Linked DNA regions of Homo sapiens: region 1 is linked to region 2. Evidence: promoter capture Hi-C in human tissues and cell types (Jung and others, 2019). All regions are on one chromosome and are shown on one strand. Each heading gives the region's core, a stretch centred on a gene start or on the middle of the fragment in contact. The rest is flanking DNA. Distances are from core to core; before and after follow the strand shown. Region 1 has its middle 41 kb from the start of MLYCD. Region 2 holds the start of NECAB2 (N-terminal EF-hand calcium binding protein 2).

The links. Contacts are between HindIII fragments. The study calls those that stand out against the background at their distance.
Region 1: a fragment that was not itself captured here is called in contact with the fragment with the promoter of NECAB2 in region 2 in 2 of the 25 tissues and cell types used here (heart left ventricle and liver).

What each region holds. Positions count from the first base shown.
Region 1 is chr16:83,856,620-83,860,499 of GRCh38, forward strand. No RefSeq gene overlaps it. Among named protein-coding and RNA genes, the nearest start is that of MLYCD, 41 kb to the right of the region's middle. The HindIII fragment of the contact is 7,456 bases long and covers 1-3,880 here.
Region 2 is chr16:83,966,845-83,970,538 of GRCh38, forward strand. It overlaps NECAB2 (N-terminal EF-hand calcium binding protein 2), which reads left to right and starts at 1,400. Exons shown (of 13, transcript NM_019065.3): 1 at 1,400-2,005. The coding sequence starts at 1,805. RefSeq lists a silencer at 1,276-1,465. The HindIII fragment of the contact is 17,829 bases long and covers 1-3,694 here.

The sequences.
Region 1 (3,880 bases), core at 1,047-3,546, 110 kb before region 2:
ATACTCAATTCCATTCTCAAAGCCAAAGACACCCAAATTTTGCATAGGTCATGGGTGCTTCAGATGAACACGCTCCCAGATAACAAGCCAAGTAGCCGTCCCTCAACCTACCCTGGCCTCTTCATTTGGTTCTGGCTTGGAAAAATGGAGCCATTAGCTGCGTTAGTGAGGGTGAAGAAATCAATAATGAGCCAATTATTGATAGGCATATGCCGTTAAACAGACTGAAAAAATAACCCGAGGGCTTTAGGAGAATGATTGCTGTGTTCCTTAGAGCAATGGCCACACAATTCCAGCTTTCAATTCCTGGTGCCATATTCACCAAGATTTATGGGGCTTTTGTAATACCTAATTGGGATTGGTAACAATACCCGAGCCTCCACCCCGTGGAATGTTTTAGGCATTTATCAAAGCCAGATGAAAAGGAAGGAGGAAATAAAATCACACTCAATCCTAGAAATATAGGGAAGGGCCCTGGGGGCAATTGAAGGCCTGCCCTGCACTATATAGAAATTGTCTCCTTTAATCCTCACAATCAATGTATTGCTTCTCTCTTGAAGGTGGTGAAAATGAGGCTCAGAGAGGTGAACTTGACCAGTGTAACTCAGCTGAAGAGTGGTAGGATGGAGATTCGAAAGAACGTCTGATTTAAAAGGCCACGCCCCTCCTACTGAACCTCATTCCAGATTTTCTAAAAGCCCTGATATTTTCTTTATGCCAATAAAATGCTCATAGACTGGGCAGGGCAACAAGATAAGGAAGAAGGGGAAGGGGCTCGATAAGAGTATGATTTGCAGCCAGGCGCAGTGGCTCACGCCTGTAATCCCAGCACTTTGGGAGGCCGAGGCGGGTGGATCGCAGGTCAGGAGTTCGAGACCAGCCTGGCCAACATGGTGAAACCCTGTCTCTAATAAAAATACAAAAATTAGCTGGGTGTGGTGACACATGCCTGTAATCCTAGCTACTCAGGAGGCTGAGGCAGGAGAATTGCTTGAACCTGGGAGACAGAGGTTGCAGTGAGCTGAGACCACACCATTGCACTCTAGCCTGGGCGACAGAGCAAGACTCCATCTCAGAAAAAAAAAAAAAAGTATGATTTGCAAGTCAGGTATAACACGTCAAGAACAACTGCCCCTCCAACAGTACTATTCCCTCCCTTCATCTGGACCTAATACCTTACTTAATACAACCATTCGTCACATTTACTTTATCGCCACCACATCCCATTGCTGGTCTGAAAGTGCCTAAACCTCCCACCGATATTCCGTAGGAATTTCTGTTAAGGTAGGCCTCCCCCATCCTATTTTTGTGGGGGTTGGGAAGTATTATGAGACTACTTCTTAGCATTCACACTCTTTTGATTTACTCCAGCAGGTCTCCAACTTGCCTTTCCACCTGCTAAGATTTTTTGAATCTTAATTCTGCCATCCAGAGTAAGAGCCCTCTCTTTGTTCTATGTAATCTCCAGATCTGATAAATATGCTTGTTTCAACCAAGACAGGCAGACAGATGAGTGTGCACATGAAAATAAACCATCAAGAATGACTTCTGTGCAACATGCCGGCACTTAGCCAAGATGGGCAAATCCCTGCCAAAGTTCTCTAACTCCTTCTTCCAGTGCGTTCTAACCAGTAATGGTGCAAAGCTCCTGTCCGTCTAAGTATCCAAGGCACTTTCTTTAGCCTGTTATAATCCTTGACTGCAAGCCCCCTGAAGGCAGGGGTTGTGTCAGGTTTTGCTCACCCCTGGGTCCCCAACACCCAGCCTACACAAGTGTGCACACAGATAGGTGACGAATGAATGAAGGGATGAAGACATGATGCTGTGGTGTCACTCCTCACTCTCCACCCACACTGTACATCCATCAGGGTGGTATGTTTGCATGTAGCCACTCCTATTGGGTTTTTAGTGGTGATTCTTGAATGGGAAAGTTGTCACCTACCCCGGGGGGGACTTTGGAAGTTTGTGGGGAGTTTTCTGCTTGTCACAATGCCTGGCATGAACAGTGGCCTTCAGGGGGATGCTAGATATTCTGCAATGCACTGAACAGTCACAAAGAAGACATAGTCGCTCATGTCCTGCAAGACCCTCTGTTATTTCAACAGGCATCCATGAAAGAGGACAGTTCTGTTTGCAGGGCATCTTTTACACAGTTTTAATGTACATAGAATACACTAGTTTATACTTTAATGTGAACGAGTGCACAGGTGAGCGGGAAAGATGTAGCAGAGACCTACAAAGGAACCTCCTTCTGGATACAAAAAAACAATGGAGTATGCAATGGGAACGGATAAGAGGAACTCAGAGCCCTCCAAGTGGACAGGGGAAGGGTTCCTTGAGGAAGTGATGCTGGAGCAGGGAAGGTTTAACGCAGAGTAGGTATTCATGAGGGGAGGGGAAAGCAGAGTGAGTCAGGCAGAGGCAACAGCATGTGTAAAGGCCCTACAGCAAGTGGGACAAGACATTTCAGACAGATTATTATTTTTTTCATTCTGCCTTCTGTTGTTGCTGATTTATGTTCAGGTCTGATCCCCACATTGGGTTGAAAGCTTCTCAAAGCCAAGACCATATCTTAGCCATCACTCTATCCTTCCCGGACCTTGCACGGTAACCAGAACCCAATACACACTCAAAATATGTTAGTTGTCATTGATGCGCAGGCAGGAGATACTCTAAAGACCAGTCCATCCTGGGGGAGGGGTAGCAATCAAGGCTCCCAGGTCTCCTACTGCTTCTTTCTTTTGATAAATTGCAAGCGGGAGATCAGCTGATCAGGAAGACCTTCCTGCAGTGATCAATAGAACTTGATTCCCTAGCATTACCTGAAACATGTGACATGTGACCCACACGTGATCAAGGGTAAGCACAGGTCTGAATGACACTGATTTCAATACAAATGAGGTAACTCGACCTCAGACACAGCACTGTATTTTGTTTTTGTTGTTCCGTTTGTTTGTTTTGAGACAAGGTCTTGCCGTGTCACCCAGACTGGGGTGCAGTGGCACAATCACGGCTCACTGCAGCCTCAATCTCCCGGGCTCAAGCAGTCCTCTTGCCTCAGCTTCTTGAGTAGCTGGTACTATAAAAGCTCATATAATTTCGTATACGCCCAGCTAATTTCTTATTTTTTTGTAGAGACGAGGTCTCACTGTGTTGCCCAGGCTGGTACCAAACTCCCGAGCTCAAGCGATCCTCCCACCTCGGCCTCCAAAAGTGCTGGGGTGATCAGCATGAGGCACCATGTCCAGCCCAGCCCTCTATTTTGCAATGGAACTATTTAAGATGCAGAGAGGAGTGGAGAGGAGGGGTTACAACCAGCTGTCAAGGCCACTCTGCTCATGGTTGGCTTTGGGGCTTCAGAGGAGGAGGAGCCGGTCTTTGTCCTCTGTTTCTTATTCCCTCTAAGGAAACTAAAGGGCTTCTTCAGACAGAAAGAACTACTGAGGGACGAGGAAAATGTTCCAGGGCCTCTTGATGCCACCCCACAGGCTTTGAAATGCTCACTATTACCCAATCATAAAGAAAATGCCATTTTGGAGATCTCTGTGTTAATTACCATCATTGGAGAGACATTATCTATATTTACATAATAGCTTCCCAGGTTTTCCTAGTTTTGAGTCAAGCTAACAAATTTGTAGCTATTATGGAACACAAATTGCTCTGGTATGTTTTAAATTCTGCAAATGGAAAACCTTGCCTGTTGAGGGAGGTGGCTAGACCCCAGAACAATTAGTGTCTAATAATTCGTTAATGTCGGAGATGCTCAAAGATACAGTTTTAAATGCCTACCTTAATGTCTTACGTGCAAAAAGAAAGGCATTTGAAGAAGCCATCGTCGGGTTAGGCACATTAATACGATTAAATAATTTTGTGAAATGTA
Region 2 (3,694 bases), core at 150-2,649:
GTCTAAGGTGCTACCTTTTCATAGCAGTGCAGTTTTTTTTTCTTTTTTTTGAGACAGAGTCTCATTTTGTCACCCAGGCTGGAGTGCTGTGGCGCTTGGTTCACTACAACCTCTGCTTCTGGGTTGAAATGATTCTCCTGTCTCAGCCTCCCAAGTAGCTGGGATTACAGGTGACTGCCACCTCGCCCAGCTAGTTATTGTATTTTTAATAGAGACGGGGTTTCACCATGTTGGCCAGGCTGGTCTTGAACTCCTGACCTCAAGTGATCCGCCCTCTTTGGCTCCCCAAAGTGTTGGTATCACAGGCATGAGCCACCACACCCTTCCAGCAGTTCAGTTTTAATTGTTCATTTGTTTGTGGAATCATTTCAGTGTTTGGCTCTGCCCACTTGGATGTAAGCTCCAGGAGCTCTGGGAGACCAAGTACACCATCTGTTTTGCCCATTGCTGGAACTCCGTGGTTGGGCACCTGCCTGGCACCTAGTGGGTTCTCCTTAATTCATCTTTTAAATGGATGGGTGGATGGATGGATGGGAGGATGGGTGGGTGGGTGGACAGATGGATAGATGAGAGGATGGTTGGATGGATGGGAGGATGGTGGGTGGGTGGATGGATGGATGGATGGATGGGAGGGAGGGGGGTGGGTGGGTGGGTGGATGGATGGGAGGGAGGATGGATGGATGGATGGGAGGGAGGGAGGATAGATGGATGGATGGAAGGATGGTGGGTGGATGGATGGGAGGGTGTGTAGGTGGGTGGATGGATGGATGGATGAGAGGGTAGGGGGGTGGATAGATGGATAGATGGGAGGGTGGGTGGGTGGATGGACAGACAGATGGGCGGGCGGGCAGATGGATGGACGGATGGATGGATGGATGGATGGATGGATGGATGGATGGATGGGAGGGTGGATGGATGGATGGATGGAGGGTGGATGGATGGATGCCAGGGAGGGAGGATGAGTGGGTGGGTGAATGGATGGATGGATGGGAGGATGCTGGGTGGGTGGATGGATGGATGGATGAATGGTTGGGAGGGTGGGTGGATGGATGGACGGACAGTCGGCCGGCCGGATGGATGGATGGGAGGATGGGTGGATGGATGTATAGATGGATTGATGGACGGGTAGGCAGGTGGATGGATGGATGGATGGATGGACGGACAGGTGGGTGGGTGGATAGATGGATGGGTGGATGGAGTATGAAGGAAAGATGTTCTGGGGTGAAGACTGGTTCTGGGCGTTTTGTAACCAAGGGGGCGGCCTGAGGGGGCGTGCACGCCCGCGGGAGTTAAGGATGGGCGCCCGCGGGCGTGACGGGGCCGCGGGGCGTGGGCGCCGCTCCCCGGGGCTGGAGCCGGCAGAGGGCGCTCCGGGCTCGCTGGACACCCGCGCTTCGGCCTCTGCTGCGCGCCGCGAGTGGGAGGGGGGACTTTAGAAGCGGGGAGAGCAGGAGACTTTTGGGGAGCAGGCCCCAGGGGCGCCGCCCCGCCCCCAGGCCCCACATACCCCTCCCCTCCGGGTAGCCCCCTCTGTGGCTGCGCCCGCGCCCCTCGCCCCGGCGGGCAGTCCTCAGGCCCCGCGCCCGGCCGGCGGGGGTGGGGGCGGCGGGGAGCGGGCACGTGGCTCGGGGTCCGGCCGGCCCGCCCCCCGGCGCCGGCCAGTCCCCGCGGTGTCCGCGGCCGCGGGGGCAGCGGGAGAGAGGGCGGGGCGGCGCGGGCAGCGCGGGGAGGGGGTCGCGCGGGGGCGGGCCGCAGCTGGGCGGGGGTCGGCGGGCTTCCGGGCGGCGGCGGCGGGCGCGGCGCGATGTGCGAGCGGGCGGCGCGCCTGTGCAGGGCCGGCGCGCACAGGCTGCTCCGGGAGCCGCCGCAGCAGGGCCGGGCGCTGGGCGGGCTGCTGCGCTGGGTGGGCGCCAGGATGGGCGAGCCCCGGGAGTCGCTGGCCCCCGCCGCCCCCGCGGACCCCGGCCCAGCCTCGCCGCGCGGGGGCACCGCCGTCATCCTGGACGTGAGTACGCGCCGGCCGGGACCCCCGCCGTGGCCTCCGCTGGGACCCGGAGCCCCCTCCGCCCCTCGGGCGGACCCCGACGCCGCGACCCGCGAGGCCCTCCCTACCCGGGCAGGAGACCCCCGGCCCCTCCGCGTGCCGGAGCGGGAGCCCCCAGCCCCGCCACGTCCAGGCCGGTCTCCAGCCCAGTCCTCTCCCTGGACCGGGAGACCCCCCTCCTCCGCCCCTCCACCGGCGCTTCTCGGAGTCCCTGCCTGCCCACAGTGGGGAGCCGTGAGCCCCCGGACCCGGCCACTGTCCCCCTAGTTTTGTCCAAGCCAAACCCCCACCCTTTACCCCGCGGGACCGGAGCCCCTCGCCGCGTCCAGCCGCCTCCTCCTCTCCATCCCGGATCCTGTCCGGAGCGATACTTTTCTGAGACCCCTAACAACCCCTACCTCTAGCCCACCTCTCTTCGCCCTAGACCCTGAGCCCCCGTTCATCTCACGCTCAAAGACCCTTTGCCCCAGCTACTGCCACTTTAAAAGTGAAGCCCCCTCCCCACCTTCTGTCTTCTCGTCTCCTTTCCATTGAGCCAGAGCCATCGCCCATCAGCCCTGAGCTGGTACCCCTCTGGTCTTCCCCACCCCGCCCCCTTCCATTCCAAGTCCTCTGTTCCCTTCCCCACACCCCTCTACCCTACAGAGAGCTGGGTCCTCTTCATGGACCAGACTCACCCCTCACCCCTCCTAACTCCCCTGGGACCCAAATCACCCATCTCTGGGAAGCCCACCTCACCCTCCCACCCGCCCCACCCGGGAGGGAGGAATCTTCAGGGGGCGGCTCGGAGGAGGAGGACTTCTCCCAGCAGAGAGTGCTAGGAGGAGGTGGAGGAGGCTTCTGGGGATGTTGACTGCGTGTTTCAGCGAGGGTCCTGCTGGGGTGGGGCTGGGGGCTGCCTCTGCCTGTGTGGTGGATTTCTGGGAGAGTGGTGGGTGTGTGTGAATGTGCACACGCGTGTATCGCGGATCCCTGTGAGTCGGGGGATTCCCTCCCTTCCTCTCTCCTCTTCCCTGCTCCTGGAACCCTTGGCCGGGGTCTGGGCTGGGAGGGCCGGCCAGAGCAGGGGGAGCTCTAGAGTGCCACACTCGCAGGCACACATTCACACACTCACGCACTCGCTTACGCACGCACACACAGCCAGAGACACACCCATGCAGCCAAACCATCCCCTCCTCAGGACCCCCGCAGAGCTCCCACTGAAAGTCCTGGGCAGAGCCCTGCAGCCCCAAGCTGCCCTGCATGGAAGCCCTGCCCAGTCAGGGTGGGGGCTCTGAGGTTCCATCTCCTCACCTGCCAAAAGGAGTGATGAGCGGGGGGTGGGGCGGGAGGTGCTCATGCAGACTCCTGGAGCTGGCTGACATTACCAGGTGTCAGCCCTGCCATGTCACTCATGTGTTCAGCATTCCTGCCCAGAGCCGGCACCTACCTGGTGCCTGGCCTCAAGGGGGATCTGGGACACCCAGATAGGGACCCCAGTTTTGAGGAGCCTTGCCCAGTCAGGAACGGGGCTGCGGGGTGCCCAGGCTGGATCTTTGAGGAGGGCTTGGGGATCTGAGGTTCAGCCAGGAGGAGGGGTGATGTTTGAGAGGCCCTCCCATAGCTGTGCTTCAGTCTCACCGCCCAGGTGCCTAGAAATGACCAAGGGTG